Linked DNA regions of Homo sapiens: regions 2, 3, 4, 5 and 6 are each linked to region 1. Evidence: promoter capture Hi-C in 16 types of primary human blood cells and fetal thymus (Javierre and others, 2016). All regions are on one chromosome and are shown on one strand. Each heading gives the region's core, a stretch centred on a gene start or on the middle of the fragment in contact. The rest is flanking DNA. Distances are from core to core; before and after follow the strand shown.

Evidence for each region. Contacts are between HindIII fragments. The CHiCAGO score rates a contact against its expected background, and 5 or more counts as called.
Region 2: the fragment with the promoter of S1PR2 here is called in contact with the fragment with the promoter of OLFM2 in region 1 in 5 of 17 cell types (naive B cells, naive CD8 T cells, total CD8 T cells and 2 more); the score reaches 8.1 in naive B cells.
Region 3: a contact is called between the fragment with the promoter of DNMT1 here and the fragment with the promoter of OLFM2 in region 1, in 7 of 17 cell types (total B cells, naive CD8 T cells, total CD8 T cells and 4 more). The highest score is 8.6, in total B cells.
Region 4: the fragment with the promoter of PDE4A here is called in contact with the fragment with the promoter of OLFM2 in region 1 in 3 of 17 cell types (naive CD4 T cells, total CD4 T cells and naive CD8 T cells); the score reaches 7.0 in naive CD4 T cells.
Region 5: a fragment that was not itself captured here is called in contact with the fragment with the promoter of OLFM2 in region 1 in 7 of 17 cell types (non-activated CD4 T cells, naive CD8 T cells, naive CD4 T cells and 4 more); the score reaches 9.8 in non-activated CD4 T cells.
Region 6: a fragment that was not itself captured here is called in contact with the fragment with the promoter of OLFM2 in region 1 in 8 of 17 cell types (total B cells, naive CD8 T cells, naive CD4 T cells and 5 more); the score reaches 9.5 in total B cells.

The regions. Positions count from the first base shown.
Region 1 is chr19:9,934,010-9,938,238 of GRCh38, forward strand. It overlaps OLFM2 (olfactomedin 2), which reads right to left and starts at 2,506. Exons shown (of 6, transcript NM_058164.4): 1 at 2,295-2,506. The coding sequence starts at 2,357. RefSeq lists enhancers at 1,762-2,356, 3,023-3,525. The HindIII fragment of the contact is 5,720 bases long and covers 1-4,229 here.
Region 2 is chr19:10,228,820-10,233,051 of GRCh38, forward strand. It overlaps S1PR2 (sphingosine-1-phosphate receptor 2), which reads right to left and starts at 2,512. Exons shown (of 2, transcript NM_004230.4): 1 at 2,385-2,512. It overlaps MIR4322 (microRNA 4322), which reads left to right and starts at 1,594; the gene lies at 1,594-1,666. RefSeq lists enhancers at 1,007-1,056, 1,137-1,216, 1,156-1,870, 3,017-3,066 and silencers at 1,397-1,446, 2,157-2,816. The HindIII fragment of the contact is 29,719 bases long and covers 1-4,232 here.
Region 3 is chr19:10,192,656-10,196,683 of GRCh38, forward strand. It overlaps DNMT1 (DNA methyltransferase 1), which reads right to left and starts at 2,298. Exons shown (of 41, transcript NM_001130823.3): 1 at 2,165-2,298. The coding sequence starts at 2,244. RefSeq lists a silencer at 2,002-2,241 and an enhancer at 2,502-2,731. The HindIII fragment of the contact is 2,077 bases long and covers 1,882-3,958 here.
Region 4 is chr19:10,419,260-10,423,035 of GRCh38, forward strand. PDE4A (phosphodiesterase 4A) reads left to right here and starts at 1,279. Exons shown (of 15, transcript NM_001111307.2): 1 at 1,279-1,825. The coding sequence starts at 1,506. RefSeq lists enhancers at 72-951, 2,132-2,321 and silencers at 1,172-1,641, 1,872-1,921. The HindIII fragment of the contact is 23,098 bases long and covers 1-3,776 here.
Region 5 is chr19:10,394,279-10,398,096 of GRCh38, forward strand. It overlaps CDC37 (cell division cycle 37, HSP90 cochaperone), which reads right to left. Exons shown (of 8, transcript NM_007065.4): 2 at 1,650-1,925; 3 at 1,157-1,265; 4 at 950-1,065; 5 at 743-865. Among named protein-coding and RNA genes, the nearest start is that of MIR1181, 7.4 kb to the right of the region's middle. The HindIII fragment of the contact is 8,904 bases long and covers 1-3,818 here.
Region 6 is chr19:10,245,064-10,249,063 of GRCh38, forward strand. No RefSeq gene overlaps it. Among named protein-coding and RNA genes, the nearest start is that of MRPL4, 5.2 kb to the right of the region's middle. The HindIII fragment of the contact is 5,281 bases long and covers 1-4,000 here.

The sequences.
Region 1 (4,229 bases), core at 1,256-3,755:
TCAGTTGGTGGCTGTATCCCCAGTGCATAATCATATCTGTTCATTGAATGGATTAACCAATGATTTCTAGGAAGGACCCCTGGGCCCATCAGGGACAGGGAAGAAGTCTTTGGAAAGTGATGGAGGGAGCGAAGAGTGGGTAGAGCATCCTCTCTGCAGACCCCTCCCTTCCCTGGGGTGCCAGGCTTGGTGGGCCAACGCCAAGGGGGTGTATGGGGCGCCGAGACTGTTTCACAACCATGTAGTTCCCGCGGTGGCCGCCTGGAGGCACTGCAGCCCGCGGCAGGATTCCACCAGCCCCGCCCTAACGGATTACCTCATTTGGCCACGCCCCCGTTGTCCTTTAGCCCCGCCTCCACTGACCTCGTTAGTCCCGCCCCCAAAGCAACTCCCTCCCAGCCCTGGGGGCTGTAGGAGTCACCCTCCAATTGCAATTCTGGCAGCAAACTCTGGCATCCTAGCCAATCTTGGTGAGAAGCCAGAAAATCTAGTGCCCCCCTAGCAGGGAGTGGAGGAGAAGCCACAGGGGGTGGTTCTCTGTCTCCTCTGCTAGGTCAAGGATAATTCAACTTGATTCCTGGCTCATTTTTTTTCCACTGGTTTCTCAAGTGTGTGCCTCTTTTGGTCTCTCGTCTCCCAGGTGTGTCTCTTGGCTTCTCTCAGGCTCACACATCCATTGAGTACCTATTGTGTGTGTCCTCATGCCTGGGGCTGGGCACACTCCCTATCCCACCCAGCGCGTGGGTGCTGAGATGCGTGGGGAAATGGAGGAGCGAGGGAGGGGACCCCACAATCTCTCCTCGTGGCCTGGAAATCCTTCTATCTGGAGTCTAACCTCCATTCCTCCCAACACCCCCCTCGGGGTGAGCACAAGGGTCTGATTCTTTTCTTGATAAGGGGAAGGTGCCCAAATTGTTTCTCCCCTGCCTATCTACCTAAAAGCCCACCTAGCAATGTCTTCACGGACGCTGTCCACACCCATGGAGCGGATTATTTAACAAGAGGGTAATCGTGTGGGCTCAGGAGCCGGACTGCCTCGGTTCAGTCCCACCTCTGTCACTCTCGAGCTTGAGCAAGTGATTTAACTTTTCTGCGCCTCAGTTTCCCCATCCATAAAATGAGGTAACAATACCATGCTCTAGTAGGGAGGAGGCAGAGGGGGTTAAATGCCTTAGTCTGTGCTGTGTGATTGAAACAGCACCTCTCAAATTAGCACGTAATGAATGATCACTGTTATCATAATGACTATTTTATTATTTTTGATCCCAGCTTCCCTGTGAACTCCTACAGATCTGAGAACTTGGGGGTGCTCTCACTCCCAAGATGGAGGAGGAGAGGGGCTTTCCAATAGCAAAAGAGAGCGTGGACGCCCCACATTTTGCAAGCCTCCCTGAGCCTGCCCAAGAGAAAGGTGCCATGGGGAGGGAGACCCGCTTCTGTAAGGGTATGAATGGCGTGTGCGGTTGTGAGCAAGGCACCAAGATACACACACACACGTGCATGGATGGACACGTTTGCACACACAGCGCTTGCACACACACACACCCTTTTAGAGTGATTTACCCAAAGGTACAGAATAGCACACGCTCACTCCAAGGCTCTCACACGGCCACACACCTGGCCACACACGTATTGTACAACACCCAGTCATCTGGAGCCAGTAATGAGGACACGGTCACACACAGACTCTGTCTCACGTACTGATCACACCCCAACTCGGGCACTAGTTGGACAAGCCCCCCAACCGCCACACACACAAACTCCCCCCGGTCACACCCAACCACGACACAAAGACACACACGTTTACCCTGCACCCCCACAGCATTTCACACGCGTCCCCGTCAGTCACTCTCACGTGAGTCCCGTCCCCTGCCCCACACTGGGGGCTGCAGGCGAGGAGTGGAGGGCTTCAGAAACTGGGCATCTCGGCCCCGAAGAGGAAGTCAAGGGTAAGCAACCGCCCCCCTCCAATGCCCCCTGAAGTTTCCCTCCCAACCCCATTCAGCTCCAGCGAGATGGCGGGGTGGGGGCTCGGGGCCATGGAGGGGTTGAGAACCCCAAAGACGCCACCCCCCAAACCAGCCCAGCTTGAGGCTGGATTTGAAGCCCCCCTCGTCCTCTCCCAAGCCAGAGAGTGCACGTCCCGGCCCCTCCCCCGCTGCGACCCCCGCCCCTCGCCGCCCTGCAGCTGGGGGGGCTTGTGGAGCCTCCCAACCCCGTTTCTCCGGGAACCCTCCGCGCCCCCCTCCTCTCCCGGAGCCACCCGCGCCCGCACCTGCCCGCCGGGCCCCTACCTGTCCGGCCAGGCCTGAGCACAGCAGCAGCAGCAGCGGCGGCGGGACCGTGAGCGGCCACATGACGCGCCCCTAGCCCGGCGTCCCGACCCCCGCCCGCCCTAGCGGCGCCTCGGCGCGGGGACCGCCACCAGGCGCGACCCCGCCCGCCCGGCCGGGGCGACCCTGCGCCGCCGCCTCCCCCGCCTCGCCGGCGGCCGGGATTCCGCCCCACCCCCGCCCCCTCGCTCGCTCCGAGTCTTTGTTGCGGGCTCCGCCCCCCGCCCCGCCCCCAGCTCCTCTTCGGGAGCAGCTCGAGCAGGGTCGGGTGGGGGGGTGGGGGCGGGGAAGTGGGGGAGCCAGCGCCGGCGAGGGGACCTGAGGACAGGACTTGGCAGCGCCCCCCAACCCCCAGGCCATTCCGGGAGCGGGTCGCGGAGGTGGGGGAGGGGTGCCCGTCACGTGTTTGTAAATTTCACCCTCCGGGGGCATTTCCCACGTTGCAGGTGGGACGGGGACGAATGGTTGGGGGAGAGGAATAGGAGGAAGGCCTGGTAGCAGAGAGGGGAAATGATGAACGCCCCCTCCCTAAAAACTCAAGAGTCAACAGGGAAACTGAGGCAGAATCTGAAATTGGAAGTTGGAGGAGGGGTCAATGCCAGGACAAGAGGGGTGAGGCATAGATGGAGACGGGGAATAAGAGGAAAAAATTGAGGTTGGGGGGACAGGAGACCGAGAATCAGGCAAGAGGCCAATGGAAATGGCCACGTGGGTGGGCTTGGCCTCAAAAAGGGGCGTCTCGTTTTCACTCTCCCCGGGCGCCCCATTTCCCCACCAGTCCTCCCGCTGGAAGCCTCCCCGCCTCCGCCACACCTGGAAGAGTTTCTCTTCGCTCCCTGTTTCAATAGCCCAAGATGAAAGACCACATCCCCCGAGAGAATCAAAATATTAACACCGCCTCCACGCGAAGCCATTTGCATATGAAGGGCGTCCTTGTCTAGCCTCACTTTCGGGAGGCTTTCCAGCCTTTCTCTGCCTCTCACTCCTCCAAAAGTCTCCCTAGGCCGGGCGCGGTGGCTCACGCCTGTAATTCCAGCAATTTGGGAGGCTGAGGAGGGTGGATCATCTGAGGTCAGGAGTTCAAGACCAGCCTGGCCAACATGGCAAAACCCCACCTCTACTAAAACATACAAAAATTAGCCGGGCGTGGTGGTGCATGCCTGGAATCCCAGCTACTCGGGAGGCTGAGACAGGAGAATCGCTTGAACCCGGGAGGCAGAGGTTGCAGTGAGCAGAGATCGTGCCATTGCACTCCAGCCTGGGCAACAGGAGCAAACCTTGTCTCAAAAAAAAAAAAAAAAAAAAAGTGTCCCTAGTCGTCTTTCCTCCCCACAGCCCCTCTAGGGATTCGGATATATGTAGGCAGAGGTGGAGGAGGGGGGCGGGCAAATAAGTCAGATTGGAAAGAAATCGGGCATAAAATATGCGAGGCCAGGAAGCCTGGCATTTTTGTGACCCTGATACTGTTGGGCTAGGAGGGGTCTCCCCAGACGCTGGTGGGGCCTCGACCCCAGCTGGTGTCCAGGCTCTTAACACCATCGCAAGAATGAATTCAAGGAGGAATCAGAAAATCATGAAAAGTTCGGAGATTTTTTTGTTAAGGGAAAAGTCCACACTTGAGAAAAGGGAGTGGGCGTACTTAAGAGAGAGAGATGGGCAAGGTGGTTTGGGACTGCTACCTTTATGTGTCTCTTTTTTTTTTTTTTTTTTTTTTTTTTTGAGACAAAGTCTCGCTCTGTCACCCAGGCTGGAGTGCAGTGGTGTGATCTCGGCTCACTGCAACCTCTGCCTCCCAGGTTCAAGCAATTCTCCTGCCTCAGCCTCCTGAGTAGCTGGGATTACAGGTGTGCGCCATCACAGCCGGCTAATTTTTTGTGTTTTTAGTAGAGACAGGGT
Region 2 (4,232 bases), core at 1,262-3,761, 290 kb after region 1:
GTTTGGAAGGAAGGGAAGAGAGATAGACTCAGACGACTGTTTGTCTGGAGATTAGGAGAGGGGAAGGATGGAGGAAGCCTCAGTGGCTTCCAAGGTCCTCTCCACCCACTCCCAGTTCCAGAAAGGCAGGCCCTGTGGTTACAGTTCCCCCTGGTCACCCATGGAGCCCGTGGTAGCCACCCTACCTTTTGGTTTCTCTGTGGTTGTCAGGACCCCCTACCCTGCCATTCTCTACCAAGCAGCCAGGGGGAGCTTTTAAACTTGTAACTCCATGTCACTCCCCAACTCCAAATTCTTCCATGGCTCCCTATAGCCCAAGTAGGATGGCCCCTGCCGATGAAGCCTCCTCCCACTCTTCCCCCAGGGCCATTCCACTCCAACCACACTAAACCTCCTCCATGCTACCCCTACCCCTACCTCCAAGCCTTTACCCCTGCTGTTCTTCTTGGGGCACACTCTTTTTCTCAAAAAAAAAATTTTTTTTTTTTGAGACAGAGTCTCACTCTGTTGCCCAGGCTAGAGTGCAGTGGTGTGATCTCGGCTCACCACAACCTCTGCCTCCTGAGTTCAAGCGATTCTCCTGCCTCAGCCTCCTGAGTAGCTGGGATTATAGGTGCCTACCACCACACCTGGCTAATTTTTGTATTTTTAGTAGAGATGGGGTTTCACCATGTTGGCCAGGCTGGTCTGGAACTCCTGACTTCAGGTGATTCACCTGCCTAAGCCTAGGAAAGTGCTGGGATTACAGGCGTGAGCCACCACGCCTGGCCTTTCCTCAAATCTTTGAATGACTGTCTCCCCATCTTTCAGAAAGGCAGGCCCTGTGGTTACAGTTCCCCCTGGTCACCCATGGAGCCCGTGGTAGCCACCCTACCTTATAGAAAGTGACCTTTCTATTTAAAGGTCACTTCCTCAGAGGGGACTCCCCTGACCCCCAGTCTACAATAGCAGCCATCTCCAAGCCTTTTCTAATCACAGAATCTCGTTTTATTATCTGCACAGCGCTTGCCACTATGGGAAACTATCATGATATCTTTCCTTTTCTGTCTGGCTTCCACCTAGACAGTCAATGCCTAAGGCCAGGGAGCAAGTCAGTTATCAGCCCCTACAGGGATGCCTGGCACAAATAAAACACTCAGAAAACGTGTGGAATGGGCAAATGAATGAATGAATGAATGAACCAATGAACAAAGGAGACCCTAGTGGGTTCCCAAGGGTGGAAACTCCTAAGCTCAGCCCAGACCCAAACAGCAACAAAGGAGCCTGGAGACACCTCTGGTCCGCGGGCAGCGCCCCCATCGCCCACCATCAACCAGGCAAAGCCCAGCGTGTCTCCATGGAGATGGCAGCAGGACCCGACCCCGTGCTGGCCCGCACTCTCGGCCTCCTTATCTGGTTTAGGAATGCGCGGTATCCACGCTCGCTCGCGCGGGAGCCACGCCTCCTCTCCCCCCCGCCCCCGAGACCGCCACACGCGCGGGGCCCCCACGTCTCCAAGCGGCACTGGAAGGATTCCTCTCCGTCCCGCCAGGGGTCCCGCCTCGAGATTCTGGGAAGACTGGGGGTGGGGGACCAGATCGCAGCAGCAGCTGCACCGCGAGTTCCGCGCCTGGCCGTGTCGCCCCACGAGGGGGACTGTGGGCTCAGCGCGTGGGGCCCGGAGCATCTGACAAGGACAGAGACAGAGGAGGGGGTGGAAATCCCCGGGTGAGTCAACCCGTGCCTGAGAAGGGGGCGAGTTCCGACGCTCCGCCCGGCTCGGGGCCACGCGAGGTCCGCGCCACGCGCGCCTTCACCCACGACCCATCCCTGAGCCGGAGTTGAAAGAGGAGGCGTCTGAGCCACGCAGTCACTTTCTCTTTCCTTACAAAACAAAGCCACGCCCCCCGCCGGGGGACCGGAGGAGGCAAACAACTTGGGGAAACCGAGGCAGAAAGCCCGACGTCCGACCGCCCTCCCCGTGGGTGCCGCCCCTTGGCTTGGAGGCTCCACGGCGCGCACATCCTTTTGCCCTCGCTCAGCCGGAGTCAGCCAGGAGGGGTGTTGCCCCCCCCCAAACACACTCCCCAAGACCCCGGTCCCCGAGCACGGCGTCCTGCCTCCCAAAGACTCCAGTCGAAAGCGCTCGGATTCAGCCTTCTCCCCGGCGCCAACTTCCTGCCGCTGAGAAAGGCGGGGAGCACAGTCTGCGGGTTCGCGGCCGAGGCAGTGGGGGCCGCCCGGATTCTTGGAGAGGGCGCACTGTGACCACCCGCTCCGTGCAGCAGGAACCCAGGCGGCGCGTGCGCGCCCCAGCCCCCCGATTGGGGCCCCTCAGCTCGGATCCCGAGACCTCAGGGGACCAGGCCCGCCTTTTCTGCCTCCTTGTCGCCACGCGCGCTCACCTGGCTAGGCCGGCCCGGCTCCCGGCCCTGGCCGGAGGGGCCTTGGCGTCTGCGTCCCCAGGGCGGCCGCGGCTGGGGCTGGGGTTGCCAGCCGGGCTCGGCTAAGTCCCGGGGCTGGGACGAGGGACAGAGGGGGGGGCGGAGAGCCGCCGCCTCTGCCCCCCGCTCGCCCCGCCCTCCTCTCCTCCCCTTTCCGGCGGCGGCTGCAATGAATTCCAGATGTGACCGGCCGGCTGGCCGGGGCGCACGCGGGGGCCGACAGGAGCTGCACGGAGGGCCCTTTGTCCGCCCCCCCCACCCGATCTCTCACTCTGCCCCTCCCAGCCCCCACCCGTGAGAACCGGCCGGCGCGAAACGTCACGCAGCCTGGTGACGTCACAGTACTCCTGGCCAGGTGGCCTCAACCTGAAACAACTGTCTTCAACCCCAGGTTACCTCTGGGCTTACCCCTGGGACCCTGGACTTGGAAGAAAACACGAGGTCACATTTATTGACTCAACAAAGAGCCTTGGAAGTACCTACTAGGTGTCAACGCAGCAAATAGGCATTAAGTGCCTACTGTGTGTCCACCCAACAAATAAATTCCTACTAAGTGCGATGTCCTGTCCCAAAGACAAAATTGATCTCTTTTTTTTTTTCTTTTTTTGAGACATGGTCTTGCTCTGTCATCCAGGCCAGAGTGTGGTGGCTCAATCATAGCTCACGGGAGCCTCAGCCTCCTGCCTCAGCCTCCAGAGTAGCTGGGACTACAGGTGCGCCATCATGCCTGGCTAATTTTTTGCAGTTTTTTGTAGAGATGGGGTCTCGCTGTGTTGCCCAGGCTGGTCTTGAACTGCTGCATTCAAGCAATCCTACTGCCTCAGCCTCCCAAAGTGCTGGAATGACAGGCGTGAGCCACTGTGCCTGACCAGTCTCTCCCTTGATAGGACCTCCAGAATTCAGGTGCTGCCCTGTTTCCCTTGGGGGACTGGGGACACTCCACACTCTTTCCTGCCTCTGTAGATCACTGTCCCCTCTGGCGGGGCCCAGTTTGTGCCTGCCTTCCAGCGTCGGGCCCAGTCTTCTATCCAGATTTCCAATTTTCACTAATTCCTGGGCATTTCTGTGTGCCTGCCTGCGGAAATGATGGACACTACACCTTCATCGAATGATGTGTGTGTGTGTGTGTGTGTGTGTGTGTGTGTGTGTGTGTGTAACCAGCAGTTCGACAACAGGATAGGAAAGCCCCTCATTCCAGCAACAAAATTTTTTTGTTTGAGACAGAGTCTTCCTTTATCTCCCAGGCTGGGGTGCAGTGGTGCCATCTCAGCTCACTGCAACCTCTGCCTCCCAGGTTCAAGCTATTCCTGTGCCTCAGCTTCACAAGTAGCTGGAAATACAGGCGCGTGCCACCACGCCTGGCTGATTTTTTTGTATTTTTAGTAAAGACAGGGTTTCACCATGTTGGCCAGGCTGGTCTCGAACTCGTGACCTCAAGTGATCCGCCTGCCTCGGCCTCCCCAAGTGCTGGGATTACAAATGTAAACCACAGCACCTGGCAACAAATATTTTTTATGCACCTACTGGGCACAGCAGTGAACAACAACAACAGCAACAAAAAGGAAAAACTCCTTGACCAGATGGATTTTTTTTTTTTTTTGAGACAGAGTCTAGCTCTGTCGCCAGGCTGGAATGTAGTGGCACTATCTCGGCTCACTGCAACCTCTGCCTCCCGGGTTCAAGCGATTCTTCTGCCTCAGCCTCCTGAGTAGCTGGGATTACAGGCATGCGCCACCATGCCCAGCTAATTTTTGTAGTTTTAGTAGAGATGGAGGTTTCACCATGTTGGCCAGGATGGTTTCGATCTCC
Region 3 (4,028 bases), core at 1,048-3,547, 260 kb after region 1:
GTAACATCATGAAGCCAGGCACTTTCATAATTTCACTTCCATTCCATTTTAAATCAAGTTTTATTTTGGGAGAATACTGGCACAGATGATTCAAGAAGATATATACCCACTAACTGGTTAAGAAGTGGTTTGACTATAATCCCAGCACTTTGGGAGGCTGAGGCAGGTGGATCACGAGGTCAGGAGTTCGAGACCAGCCTGACCAACATGGAGAAACCCCGACTCCACTGAAAACACAAAAATTAGCCAGGCGTGGTGGTGTGCACCTGTAATCCCAGCTACTTCGGAGGCTGAGGCAGGAGAATCACTTGAACCCTGAAAGTGGAGGTTGCAGTGAGCCGAGATCACGCCACCGCATTCCAGCCTGGGTGAAAGAATGAGACTCCATCTCAAACAAACAAACAAAAAAAAGTAGTAGTTAAGGCATGATGGCTCATACTTGTAATCCTAACCTTTGGGACACAAAGGCAGGAGGACTGCTTGAGGGCAGGGGTTTAAGACCAGCCTGGGCAATATGGTGAAACCTCACGTATACAGAAACAAAAACTAAGAAAGTCATCTGGGCATGGTGGTGGGCGCCTGTGGTCCCAGCTACTCAGGAGGCTGAGGATCCCTTAAGCCCAGGAGTTCAAGGCTACAGTGAGTTATAATTGTGCCAGGGCACTCCAGCCTGGACAACAGAGTGAGACCCATCTCTAAAAATAAAAAGTGTTTCTTTTTTTGAGACAGGGTCTCACTCTGTCACCCAGGCTGGAGTGCAATAGCGCGATCTCAGCTCGCTACACACAGCCTCAACCTCTGGGGCTCAAGTGATACTCCCACCTTAGTCTGTTGAGTAGTTGGGACCACAGGCGCACGGCACTACTCCAGGCTAATTTTTGTATTTTTAGTAGACATGGGGTTTTGCCTTGTTGCCCAGGCTGGTCTCAAACTCCTGGCTCAAGAGATTCGTCCGCCACTGCCTCCCAAATTGCTGGGATTACAGGCATAAGCCACAGCACCCAGCCTTCAAAAAAAAAAAAAAAAAGAAAAGAAAAAAAGCGGGGGTTGAACCAAATATCCATCCCTCCCCAAAGACCCAAATCAGAACCGGACTGGCCCAACCAGGTCAGTTAACAAGCCTAAGGAAATAGAAAAATGGCAAAGAGTGCTTTCACAAATCCAGCTGGAAGTGTCCACGCCTGGTGAGGGTTCCTCTGACTCACGCACACCTCACTTGAACAAGTTTTCAGGAATGAACTGATGGCGTTCATGAACAAGGGGCTGGGACCAGTGCTCCCACTGATCCTTGTGCACGGAAGTTGGACAGAGGCATGAACTGCTAAAGCCAGGGCCTCCAACATTAGACACACACTAAAGAACACACCCATGAACACACACAAACACACACGAAAGTGTAGCCAGTTCTCATTAGCAAGACTTCCCTGATGCCCACGGCTCACAGGCACAGATTTACAGGAAAAGACCAACCATGCAGCCTTCACGCTTCCCGGGCCCTGCGCTGCAATGCACGGTTAAAGTTCCTGCCAAAACATGGACTTTCCCAAGGAGCAAGAACCACACAGTCCCAACTGACAGAATGAGTACCCCACGGAAGGCTGGGCTCTCGAACATGAGCCAGCCCAGCCCAGGCCCCGACGGGTGACATCCGTCTCTGGAGGCCGCCATCGAGATGCACAGCTTTGGGGGAAAGGCACTGAGGGACCCCCCACCACAGAAGCGCCCCCGGGGACCGGGCCGGACACCGGAAGTGGAGGCCGAAGTGCCGGTGCCCGAGGGGTGTCCGTTGGCCGCGGGCTGCCCACTTCCTGTGCGACCAAGCTGGAGTCAAGAGCCCGGCCCACCGCTGCTTGAAGAAGGGGACCCCGGAAACGAACCCAAAGCTTGCTGTATTTGGGGATCAAAAGAGAACCCCCACCCCGCCTAGTTTCTAGCCACCAGGGAGCTACGGGGGAATCCACGGTCCATTTTGGCGCCAAACAGCCCGGGCACGCGCGACCGGAAGTGCCACCCTGCCCGCGCCAACTGCCGCTGCGCGCCGCACCACCCCACGCATGCGCGCCCGTCTGTCAGCAGCGGCCACCGGCCACCCCGAGGGGAAGCGACCCCCCACCCAGCGCCCTGCCTGTCCCCCTGAGTCCGTGTTCCCCCCCATGGTACCTACCGCCTGCGGACATCGTCGGGCAGCGAGATGGCCGGGACGGCCAGTGTGGGCACCCGGGCTGGGGCGGTACGCGCCGGCATCTCGGAGGCTTCAGCAGACGCGGCGGCGGCAGCGCAGGCGCCCCGGCTTTTCGCGCGGAAACCGATGGGGAGGGGCGATGAGCGGAGGCGGCGTCTACCACCCCAGTCCGGGCGTGGGGGAGGAGGGGATGTACCAAACGGAGAGAGGCGATACCCTGTGCAGAAGGATGGAACGGAGCCGGCCATGCCCAGGGAACACGCATGCGCAAGGCGGGCACACACCCCCCCCACGCGGAGCAGTGGGCTCGTCCAAGCTCCACGGTTTGCTGGGAGGTGGGCACGGTGCCCGAGGCATTCATTCATTCATTCTTTCAGGTGTGATGGGGATAAAGCAGCGAGAAGCCCCCAAGGGTTTGTGAGAGCCCTTGAGTAAAGTCCTCAGTTCCAATCCAACCTCCATCTATTTGCTGGCTATACGACCTTAGGTGGGTCACTACGGCTCAGCCTCTGTGTCCTCATCTGTAAAACGGGGTAATTGCACCTACTCTAGAAAATCTTGAGTATACACAGAATTTGTAGCTAGTACCAAGAATCTCACAGTGTATAGAGGCCCATGCCACTTCTATACCCAGTGTGTGGGGGGTTTTTTGTTGCCTTTTTTAAGCACCACGTGGCTCACGCCTGTCATCCCAGCACTTTGGGAGGCCAGGGTGGGAGGATCGCTTGAGCCCAGGAGTTTTAGACCAGCCTAGGTAACATAGAGAAACTGCATCTCAAAAAAAAAAAAAAAGAAAGAAAGAAAGAAAGAAAAAAAGAAAAACAAAAATTAGCTAGTCGTTGTGGCATGTGCCCATAGTCCAAACTACTCCAGAGGTTGAGGCAGGAAGATCACTTGAACCGGAGAGGCAGAGGTTGCAGTGAGCCATGATTGTACCACTACATTCCAGCCTGGGAGACAGAGCAAGACCTTGTCTCAAAAAAATAAAAATAAAAAGTAAGAATAAATTAAGAAGCACCATGTCAGGCGCAGTGGCTCACGCCTGTAATCCCAGTGCTTTGAGAGGCCCAGGTGGGAGGATCGCTTGAGGTTAGGAGTTCAAGACCAGCCTGAGCAACATAGGGATACCCCATCTCTACAAAAAATACAAAGATTTGCTGGGCATGGTGACACACACCTGTAATCCTAGCTACTTGGGAGGCTGAGGTGGGAGGATGGCTTGAACCCTGGCAGTGTAGGCTGCAATGAGCCATGATTGGGCCACTGGACTCCTGCCTGGGCGACAGGGTAAGACCCTGCCTCACTCTGTCACCCCGGCTGGCGTGCAGTGGTGAGATCTTGGCTCACTGCAACCTCTGCCTCCCAGGTTCAAGCGATTCTCATGCCTCAGCCTCCCTAGTAGGCTGGGATTACAGGCGTACTCCACCACGCCTGGCTAATTTTTGTATCTTCGGTGGTAGAGACAGGGTTTCACCATGTTGGCCAGGCTAGTCTGGGACTCCTAGCCTCAAGCAGTCCACTTGCCTCAGCCTCCCAAAGTGCTGGGATTATAGGCCTAAGCCACCGTAACCAGCCAGAATTTTTTTTTTTTTTAAAGCACCAGAACATGGGGGAAAGATTGTGTCTTTAACAAATGGTGCTGAGAAAACTGTATAACCACATACAAAAGAATGAAGTTGGACCCTTACCTTACACCATATACAAAAACACAAAACTTATTAAAGATTAAACATAAGACCTGAAACTATAGTGCTCCTAGAAGAAAACATGGGGAAAAGCTTCATGACAATGGATTTGGCAATGATTTCTTGGATATGACAGCAAAACACAGGCAACAAGACAAAAG
Region 4 (3,776 bases), core at 29-2,528, 480 kb after region 1:
GCACTCCCCCCGCCCAGCAGCCATCCTTGGGGGGGTTGAGGGGGATGGGGGCGCACTCGGATCCCGCTCGCTCTCTGCTTGCTCGCTCGGCGCGGCGCTGGGGGAGGCGGGAGCGTGAGTCACGGCGACTCCCGATTTAGGTGCCGGAAGGGGGGCTCTGCTGGCGGGGGCCGCAGGGAGGAGGCTCGCCTGTTTACTCGCCTGAAAAGGGCACGGGGGTGCGCTCCGCGGCTACCTGGGACCTTCCTCAGTTTACCTCTGGCAGAAGCGCTTTAGAAGAGGCAGCGATGTATAGAGCGGTGGGCCGGCAGCTGCGGTATCCGCCACAGGGTGTCTTCCTGGAGCCACAAGGGAACCAATGGGACACACCCCAGAAACACCCCAGAGGCCCCAGGCCGACCACACACATACACTCACGCACACGCACACACTAACATACATAGACGTCCTCCGACACTACAGTCAGACGACAGAGGCCGAATCGCGTGCACAACTCCGCAAGCACACACCGACCACAAACGCATCCAAGCGCTTGAGAACACATTCACAGTCCCCAGGCCACCTGAAAAAAGACCACGTAGGGATGCACATCCTCCAAATAGGTAGCACATGTGCGCACACATCCTTCACCCACAGACACACACAGTTATACACACAGCCAAATCCAGAGAAACGGGCAGACAACAGCAGCCAACCACGTGCGCACACACACTTCCAGCCGACACTGAAAACACAGACAACCCTCGGAAGAGGCCACGTGCGCGCACATCCCGCCCCGGGCCCGCACCATCACTATCCTCCGACGCACAGACAGGAGATCCCACACACTCTGCCGCCGCCCGCTGCAGGTACCGCGCCGGTGGCACTAGGACCACTCCTCAAAAACTGCCCCCCGCCAGGGGTAGCGGCGAGGACACGCCAACACCGGACTCCGCCCTCGCCATGATGGACCGACTGACTGACACTCTGGCAACCAGTCCGGTGTCTGCTTCCAGATCGGATTAACCGTTTAACTCCTTCGTGCCTGTGCGCGCCGCGGCCAAGCAGGGTGCTTTGAAGACAGACGAGTTCCAGCGCCCCCTCCCAGCCCGGAGCGGGGATCTGCGTGGGCGGGAAGGGCCCCCCTCCTTAGGTAGCTGCCCCCCGCTGGCCCGGACGGAGGAGGAGGGGGGCGGCGCTGACAGCCGCGGCGGGCGGGGGGCGGGGAGGGGCGGGACGGGGCGGAGGAGCCGGGGCTGGCGCCGAGCGGGCCGCGGAACGCGGAGCGCGGAGCGCGGAGAGCGCCGCCGGGCACTGAGCAGAGCTCCAGGCGCCGAAAGGAAGCTGCAGAGCCCGGCCCGGGGGCGATTGGCCCGCAGCGCCCCCGGGTCTGTCCCCGGGGCGCCATGGCCCTACCGCGGCCGGGCGCACCCGCGGGGCCCTGGGCTCGCTGGCTTGCGCGCAGCTGAGCGGGGTGTAGGTTGGAAGGGCCAGGGCCCCCTGGGGCGCAAGTGGGGGCCGGCGCCATGGAACCCCCGACCGTCCCCTCGGAAAGGAGCCTGTCTCTGTCACTGCCCGGGCCCCGGGAGGGCCAGGCCACCCTGAAGCCTCCCCCGCAGCACCTGTGGCGGCAGCCTCGGACCCCCATCCGTATCCAGCAGCGCGGCTACTCCGACAGCGCGGAGCGCGCCGAGCGGGAGCGGCAGCCGCACCGGCCCATAGAGCGCGCCGATGCCATGGACACCAGCGACCGGCCCGGCCTGCGCACGACCCGCATGTCCTGGCCCTCGTCCTTCCATGGCACTGGCACCGGCAGCGGCGGCGCGGGCGGAGGCAGCAGCAGGCGGTAAGACTCCCCGCGGCGGATGCGCGCGGAACGGATGGGCGCGCAGGGAGGAGGCAACTCGAGCTGCCGGCCGCAGGGGGCGCTAGGATGCGGGTGGGGTCGGTTTGGCTGGCGGGGGCGGAGGGAATTCGGCTGCGGGGGCGTCTGGGACCTGGCCCCTGGTTGTGCGCTCTACGGGAGGCTTCCTGCTGAAGCCCATCCTGGGGTCCATTTAGGGGGCGCCACGCTGCGCGTGGTGTTAACGAGGTCTGGGTTGGGGAAGGGGGCTGCACACTTAGGGGTCTGTATTCTTGGTGACAGTGCAGAACAGCTGCTAAGCTGGGAACCACTTGGAGGGACCTTCCTGGGGGCACTATACTGAGGGCTAGATTCGCAGTGTTTGGGGTACTCTTGGAGCACTCCATAAGGGGGTGCCTGCTAGGACCAGGATCTTTACTTCAGGGTGGGGTGCTCTCAGGGTCCTTCTAGGGGATGGAGGACTCTATTGCGGGGATGTTAGTGGACTCCTCCTGCAGCAGCTGGGGTCAGAAATCCAGAGGGTGCCTCTTGGGGGAGCACTGTTTTGGGAGCCTTGCGTTAGATTGGAGTTCCCCTCTCAGGGCAAGAGTGTTAGCGTTAAGTAGCTGTTCAGAGGCAGGAAACAGTGGAGGGGGGGCGCAGTCCCAGCACAGAGGGAAGGAGTCCCTGACTGCAGAGGTGACAGCATAGTGAGGGTGCATGTGTGTTGAGCTTGGTCTCCTCTGAGGGTATTCTCCGATTGACCTCCGTTTGCTCCAGCTGTCCGGGTATGACCAGCTGTGGCTACCTCAGTTGTGTGCTCTGTGTGAGCTTCTGGGGTCTTGTGATGGTGACACGATGACTCTGTGTCCTCCAGGGACAGTGTAATTGTGACAGTGTGACTGTGTATTTCCAGGGTAGTGTGACTGTGTGTTTCTGGGACAGGGTTTGCGACAGTGACTGTGTGTGCTCCAAGAATGCTGTGACTGTCACAGGGTGACTGTGGCCTCATGGGATGCAGTGATTGGGATAGAGTGACTGTTTCTGCTCCTAGGACAGTGATTGTGCAATGGTGTTGGTGGTCTAGGGACAATGTGATTGTGACAGTGTCATTTCTGGCATGCAGTGATTGTGGCACTGGGGTGTTTACACTTGGGGAACAATGTGATTGAGTTCGTGGAACAGTCTGTGCTCCTTGGACACTGTGATTGAAACACAGTGGCTGTGTGTTAGTCTTCACCAGGTGCTCACGTCTGAGCGTCGGTGCTCTGACATGTGGTCTGTGTTCCCTCTGCCTGGTGTATCCTAAGAACTGGTGTCCTCTAACCACCTGGTGTTCTTAGTTATTGTTCCTCCTCTGATGGTGCTCCAGGGTCTGATTGCTTGTGCTCCAGCGATGTGTGCAACTGACAGCTTTGCCCGTGTGCTCTACCTGGATGCCCCACTGCTGGGGATATCACCAAGACGGTCAGATTTGGGCTCCTTATCCCTGGAGCTCCTGAGTGAGGCCTCTCTAAGATGTAGCCCTACTCTTCCTAAGTCTCTTTGGGGGTCTTCAGCAGTCATTGCAGCCCTCCAGGCCACCCCCACCTCTGTTCTGATCACCCCCCAGCCCCAGTCCCCCTGCACCCTTCTACCCACCAGGAAGCAAGTGTCACGGGCCCAGCATACATGGGCTGACATTTCCCAAAGGGAACTGGAGAGAGGCTGAAGGAAGAGAAAGTTGGAATCAACAGAAAATGCTAAAACTGGGGCAGGGGGCCAAACTGGCACAGGTCACTGTCCTAAGACACCAAGGGGTGGGTGAAGTGAAGTAGGTTCCAGGCCCCATTTCTTTGCAAGGCTCCAGGGACTCCTCCTAGCCTGGTCTCTGGGGCACTGAGTCTTAGGGGACAGTGGCTGAGTGGTAATAATCATCATTATTTTGGTGGGTATCCATCTCGCAATGGCTCAC
Region 5 (3,818 bases), core at 1,315-3,814, 460 kb after region 1:
CCCAAAACCCTAGAGGCACCCTCACCTTTGTCCTTTACCCACATATTCACCTGGGTACCTTCAGCACATCCTACTGCTCCCACATTTTTTTGTAATGCAGTTTTGCTCTGTCACCCAGGCTGCAGTGCAGTGGCAAACCACAGCTCAAACTCCTGAGCTCAAGTGATCCTCCTGCCTCAGCCTCCCAAATAGTTGGGACTATAGTACTCAGTCACCAAGCCTGGCCTGACCTCCACTTTTATTTAATTAATTAATTTATTTATTTATTTATTTTTGAGATGGAATTTCGCTCTTGTTGCCTAGGCTGAAGTGCAATGGCACGATCTCGGCTCACAGCAACCTCTGCCTCCCAGGTTCAAGCGATTCTCCTGCCTCAGCCCCCCGAGTAGCTGGGATTACAGGCACACACCACCATGCCCGGCTAATTTTGTATTTTCAGTAGAGATGAGGTTTCTCCATGTTAGGCTGGTCTCAAACTTCCAACCTCAGGTGATCTGCCCACCTCAGCCTCCCAAAGTGCTGGGATTACAGGCGTGAGCCACTGCGCCCGGCCTCCACTTTTAAAGTCTGGCAGAATCTGCCCACTTCTCTCCTCCTCCCTGGCCCCACCCTCTCCTGATCTAGGATGCGGTGACTGGAGGGGCTTGAGTCCCAGTGGAGAGGAGTCGGCCTTACCTAGAGCATTGTGGGCTGGTTCCCTGGGGAGGGGGCCTCCAGCCACCTGGCAGCTCAGGGACCCTACCTTAATCTTAGTGAAGAACTGCCGGAAGCAGGCCCGGGGGTCCACCTTTAGGCTCTTGGCCAGCTCCAGGATAAATTGCATGACGATTGTCTGGTGGGCCACCTGCTCCATGAGTGCACATTTCTGCCAGGAAGAACAGGCACAGCGTCACCAAGTGGCGGCCTCATGGCAGCGCCTTTTCACAGTCCCGGGGAAAGCTCCACTCACCTCCTCCACCTCTAGGTCAATGCACCAAATGACCAGGTAATTGGCTGTCTCCTCGCACACCAGGTGGACGTTGTCTGACAGGTACTTTTGGCTGTCATCCCAGCGGCGAAGCATGCCTGTGGGAAGATGCTGGCAAGGTGCTGGAGGGCCCTGGAGGCAAAGGGCCTGCCTCGACCTTGCCCCCCATAACCCACAAGCCCCACTCACCAAAGTGCTTGATCTGTTTCTCGTATTTTTCCACGAAGGTCTTGTGTTTCTGCTCCCTCACCTCCTCTGAGTCCTCCTCCGTCTTCTCGGGCTTGGTATTTACCATGCTCTGTGGTAGGGTGAGAGGGGGAGTGGGCTGGGGCAAGGCTGCGGAGCGCCTCGAGCGCGGCCGGGCGGGCCGTGGTCGCAGCGCCCATCCCATCCACGGCGGAGGTGGTGACGAAGCCATGAGCATCAAGGTGGCGGGAGCGTGGGCATGGGCCTTGGGGCAGATCAGAGGAGGGGACCGGTGGGGTGTTTCATCCGCCCGGCCCCCCAAGCCTGTCCCCCCTCCCACGTGGCCCCCGTCCATCCCTCAGCTCCCCGCCCCCCACCACACTCTTCAACTACACCACCGGGGTCCTCCCCTGACCAGGCATTGGGTGCGCATGCGTCCTGGTTGCAGGCTCTCTGGCTGCGCATGCGCACTGCCCGCCCCGCCCGCCCCGCACACCTTGCTGAAGCCGTCTTTGCTGAGCGTGTCCACGTTCCAGGGCATGCTCTTCTCCTTCTTGCGCATCTCCTCCAGCTTCTGCTCCCAGCTCCGCTCCTCCTTGCGCAGCTGCTGTGCCTCGGCCTGCAGGCGCTCCAGCTCTGCCTTGCCGCCCTCGGCCACCTCCAGCTCCTTCAGTTTCCTCTGGCACTCGGCCACCTTGCGCTTGCACTCGCGGCAGCCCCTGTCCAGTTCCTCCTTCTCCTTCTGGAACTGCTCCATGCGTTCCACCCGGGCCTGCGGGCAGGGACGGCCTATCAACTCTGGGGAGTCGTCTGTCCCTTACCCCCGCCCCATACCCAATCCCTGCACCGGAGATGGCCCCAGGAAAAAGTACGCGTCCACCTCCCGTGCCCTGGTCTCCCAGCTTCCGCCCCTGCGCCCACAGGTGCCAGCGCACACCCAAGTGGGGTCAGGTCCCTCCGTCCTCTGCTCAGAACCCTGGCGGCTCCCATCTCACAGCAGAACCCAAGTTGTCACCACAGCCTACATGGGCCCTACACAATCTGCCTCGGCACCTCCCCTGGTAACTCTTCCTTCCAGCTACACCAGCCCCTCACTTTTCTCACCTTTTCTTGAGGCCATTTTTTTTGTTTAAGAAAACAAAACAAAACAAAACAAAAAACAGGGTCTCACTCTGTCGTCCAGGTCAGAGTGCAGTGGCCCAATGATGACATACTGCAGCCTCGACCTCCCTGGGCTCAGGCGATCCTCCCACCTCAGTCTCCCAAGTAGCTGGGACTACAGGTGTGCACCAGCACGCCCAGCTAATTTTTGTATTTTCAGTAAAGATGGGGTTTGCCATGTTGCCCAGGCTGGTCTTGAAGTCCTGGGTTCAAGCGATCCTTCCCTCTCGGCCTCCCAAAGTGCTGGGACTACAGGCGGGAGCTACTGCACTCTGCGGAGCCCACTTTTTTCTTGAACCTCAAGGCCTTCGCACTGGCTGTTCCAACTACTTGGAATGCTTTTCCTTCAGAGCCCCCCACAGCTGACTCCATGGCACCCGTGCCATCTGGGCTCCATGTTGCCTTAGCGAGGACCCCTTCCCCAACCACCTTCCTGATGATGGCAACTTCCCGCTGCCCCTGTCTGGAATTCCCTGCCTCCTCAACATCAGCAACCACTAACATCATATGACAATTATTTATCACGTTTTGGGTACTGCCCCCCTCCAATGAATGAAGCCCTGCTCTCTAAATATGGGAACGTGTTCGCCATTTTGTTCCCAGAACCAGGAACGTGGCCTGGTGCAAAGCACGGGCTCAGCAAATGCTTGTTTTTTTTTTTGTTTTTATTTTGTTCAGTTTTGTTTGAACAAGGTCTTGTTGTCATGCAGACTAGAGTGCAGTGGTGTGATAATGGCTCACTGCAGCCTTGATCTCCCAGGCTCAACCTGCCTCAACCCCAAGTAGCTGGGACTACAGGTGCACACAAACCACCAAGCCTGGCTTTTTTTTTTTTTTTTTTTTTTTGAGACGGAGTCGCCCAGGCTGGAGTGCAGTGGCGTGATCTTGGCTCACTGCAACCTCTGCCTCCCGTGTTCAAGCAATTTTCCTGCCTCAGCCTCCTTAGTAGCTGGGATTACAGGCACGCGCCACCACGCCTGGGTAATTTTGTATTTTTAATAGAGACGGGGTTTCTCCATGTTGGCTGGTCTTGAACTCCTGACCTCAAGTGATCCACCCACCTTGGCCTCCCAAAGTGCTGGGATTACAGGCATGAGCCACTGCACCAGGGCCCCTTCTAGATGTTTCTTTGTTCCACCCATAACCTTGCCCCAGGATCACTGCCAAGGCCCTCTTAGCTCTGTCTCCAGCCCAGCATGCCCTCCTGAGCCCCAGCTTGGTGTCTACCTGCTTCCCGCTCACCCCAGCCCCAGATGTCACTCCCCAGGCACTCCTCTTTCTCCTTATAACAGTGCCTCATCTCCTCAGGCTCCTGGTCCCCGCCTCACTCCCTGTCTCCCTCAGACCTCCATCTGGGCCCCATCGGATTGTACAGGCCTCTCCTGAGACCCCTGCGTGGCTCCACCATCACCTCTCCTGAACCTCAGTGGAGGCTGCTCTATCCAGAGCCACTAATCAAACCCTGAAACCCTGAAACGTGCCACCACCTTCAATTGCTGACCCT
Region 6 (4,000 bases), core at 1,166-3,665, 310 kb after region 1:
CTGCCTCAGCCTCCCAAGTAGCTGGGATTATAGGCGCCTGCCACCACACCTGGCTAATTTTTGTATTTTTAGAGAGACAAGGTTTCACCACGTTGGCCAGGCTGGCCTCGAACTCCTGACCTCAAGTCATCTGCCCACCTCGGCCTCTCTAAGTGCTGGGATTACAGGTGTGAGCCACCACGCCTGGCCCTCAGCATGTTTTTTAAAAGAATAAAATAATAAAAGAAACAAAAATAGATATTAACGGGGAAATGGAATGTGATTGGTGGGTTCTGGGTTCTGGTGAGGAGGCCAGGGCGGCTAAAGCCATGGAGGAAGGGGAACAGGAGAATGGAAGGTTAGGGCAGGTCCTGCGGGGACTTGAGGGTTGCATGAGGACTTTGGTTTTAGTGCTAAGTGAAATGAAGGCACTGAGGGTTCTAAGCAGAAGAGGGAAGTGACCTGACTCAGATGTTTACAGCCTACCTCTAGGGGATGGGTAACAGATGATGAGGAGTGAGGGTGGAAGGAAGAATTCATTCTCAACACAGCCCCGTAGGGGAGGGTTTGTGTGTATTTCACTTACAGATTAGGAGGCCACAGCTCCCACTTGCCCAAGGCCATCCAGCCAATTAGTGGCAGTGCCTGGATTCAAACCAGTGTTACTGAATGAATAATCATGTATGGGCACCTTACGTGCCCAGTGACCTCAGGTGGACAGAGATTTGAGACCCAGGGACATAGGGAGAAAGTCCTCTGTTGTTAGCAATACCCCTGCAACAGGATGAACAAAGGAATTCACTCAGGAAACATTTATTAGCTGGGTGTGGTGGTGCATGCCTGTGGTCCCAGCTACTCGGGAGGCTGAGGCAGGAGGATTACTTGAGCCCGGGAGTTGCAGGCTGCAGTGAACTATGATCATGCCACTGCACTCCAGCCTAAGTGACAGAGTGAGACTCTGTCTCTAAAAAGAAAAACAAAAGAACTAAAGAAACATTTATTGAGCATGTACTGTGGTCCAGACACTATGCTGAGTGCTGAAGCTACAGCAGGTAATAGGATAGAGGAAAATTCCAGCCTTGGGTGAGTTTACATTCTAATGGGAGAGGCAGACAAAAAGCATTTTTAGCCAGGTGCAGTGGCTCACGCCTGTAATCCCAGCACTTTGGGAGGCCGAGGTGGGCAGATCACAAGGTCAGGAGTTTGAGACCAGCCTGGCCAACATGGTGAAACCCCATCTCTATTCAAAATACAAAAAAATTAGCCGAGTGTGGTGGCAGGCGCCTGTAATCCCAGCTACTTGGGAGGCTAAGGCAGGAGAATCGCTTGAACCTGGGAGATGGAGGTTGCAGTAAGCTGAGACTGTGCCATTGCACTCTAGCCTGGGCAACAAGAGCAAAACTCTGTCTCAAAAAAAAAAAAAAAAGAAGAAGAAGAAGATAACCATTAGGCCAGATGTGGTGGCTAACATCTGTAATCCCAGCACTTTGGGAGGCTAAGGCAGGAGAACTGCTGGAGCCGAGGAGTCTAAGACTAGCCTGGGCAATGTGGTGAGACCTCGTGTCTACAAATATATATATATTTTTAAATAGCCAGGTGTGGTAGCACACACGTGTAGTCCCAGCTACTCAAAAGACCAAGGTGGGAGGATCACTTGAGCCCCAGAGACAGAGGTTGCAGTGAACCAAGATCTCGACATTGCACTCCAGCCTGGGTGGCAGAGTGGAACACTGTCTCAAAAAAAAGAAGATAAATATTAATATAGGGCAAGAGAAGAGGGTCAGAAAGGTCAGAGGTGAAGATTTGCTTTTTTATTTTTTTGAGACAAAGTCTCGATCTGTCACCTGGGCTGGAGTGCAGTGGCGCAATCTCAGCTCACTGCAACCTCCGCCTCCCGGGTTCAAGTGATCCTCCCATCTTAGCCTCCTGAGAAGCTGGGACTACAGTCGCACACCAGCACAGAGGTTTCAGTGAGCTGAAATCACACCACTGCACTCCAGCCTGGGTGACAGAGTGAGACCCTGTCTCAAACAACAACAACAAAAACAAAGGAAGCATGCAGTGGGTAGTCCGAAAGGTTCAGCCACCTCTGCCCCCTGTCAGTCTTTCCTCACTCCTGGCCTCTGCGACTGCTGTTCTCTCAACCTGAAACAGACTTTCTCCTCTGGACAAAGTCCTCAAGCCTTAGCTCTCAGGCTACAGCTTCATAAGACCACCCCAAGACCCTGCCCCCGTGGTTGGGAATTCCTCCTGTGGACGCCCACAGACCCTGTAGACTCCCCTCCTGAACTCTGATCCTTCAGGCCTCTGCATTGGACTGTGAATATTTCAAAAGTGTTTGCTGGATTTACTGGTGTACCAGTGGTGCACAGTAGGTGCCTAATAAATCACTAAGAAACTAAGCCAGGCGGCCTAGTGTGGTGGCTCACGCCTGTAATCCCAGCACTTTGGGAGGCTGAGGCAGGCGGATCATTTGAGGTCAGGAGTTCGAGACCAGCCTGGCCAATATGGCAAAACCCCATCTCTACTAAAAATACAAAAATTAGCTGGGCGTGGTGGTGTCTGCCTGTAATCCCAGCTACTCAGGAGGTTGAGGCAGGAGAATTACTTGAACCCAGGAGGTGGAGGAGGTTACAGTGAGCCGGGATCGCACCACTGCATTCTAGCCTGGGTGACAGAATGAGACTGTGTCTCAAAAAAAAAAAAAAAAAACAAAAGGCACAGGGCATGGATGGATGATACAGATCTGTTGTGGGGGATGAGGGGTGGAATCACAAGGTCAGGAGTTTGAGACCATCCTGGCTAACATGGTGAAACCGTCTCTACTAAAAATACAAAAATTAGCCAGGCGTGGTGGCGGGCACCTGTAGTCCCAGCTACTCAGGAGGCTGAGGTGGGAGAATGGCGTGAACCTGGGAGGCGGAGCTTGCAGTGAGCCAAGATCACGCCACTGCACTCCAGCCTGGGCGACAGAGCGAGACTCCGTCTCAAAAAAAAAAAAAAAAAAAAAAAAGCCAGGCGAGGTGACTCACACCCATAATCGCAGCACTTTGGGAGGCCAAGGCGGGCAGATCGCTTGAGCCCAGAAGTTTGAGATCTGCCTGGGCAACACGGCGAGACCCTGTCTCTATGAAACAAGAAAAAAGAAAGAAACGAAATACTGTTCCATCATTTGCCACATAAAATCTAAACTCTCTGGTGCAGAACAGACTTGCAAATCTGCCTGTAAAATCATACACCGGATTTTGGAGTAGACACACAGGAGGCTGATTGTAGTGGTGGCTTCTGGGAGAAGAACTGGGGGGTAGGGGGCACAGATAAGAGTAGACAGAATTTTCACTCTAGTAATCTTTGTAATTTTTGAAATTCTCTCTACCAGGTGTATGAATGACCAATGAAAATATACAATAGGCCAGGCGCAGTGGCTCACGCCTATAATCCCAGCACTTTGGGAGGCTGAGGCGGGTGGATCACATGAGGTCAGGAGTCCGAGGCCAGCCTGACCAACATGGTGAAACCTTGTCTCTACGAAAAATACAAACATTAGTCAGGTAGGGAGCATCACTTGAGAACAGGAGTTCAAGACCAGCCTGGACAACAAAGCAAGACCTCTGCCTCTACAAAAAAAAAAAAAAAAAAAAAAAATTGCTGGGCATGGTGGAACATGCCTGTGGCCTCAGCTACTTAGGTGGCTGCAGCAGAGGATCATCTGAGGCCAGGAATTCAAGACTACAGTGAACTATAATCGTTACACTGCACTACAGACTGGTAACAGGGTGAGATCCTGTCTCAAAAACAACAGCAACAAAATAAACGATTAAAAGACCTTTTAAAGTTGCAAAATACATAGAGTCTTAAACATGCATCCACAGTTATTTATTTATTTATTTAGAAACGGAGTTTCACTCTTGTTGCCCAGGCTGGAGTGCAATGGTGCGGTATCAGCTCACTGCAACCTCCGCCTCCCAAGTTAAAGGAATTCTGCCTCAGCCTTCCAAGTAGCTGGAATTACAGGCATGCG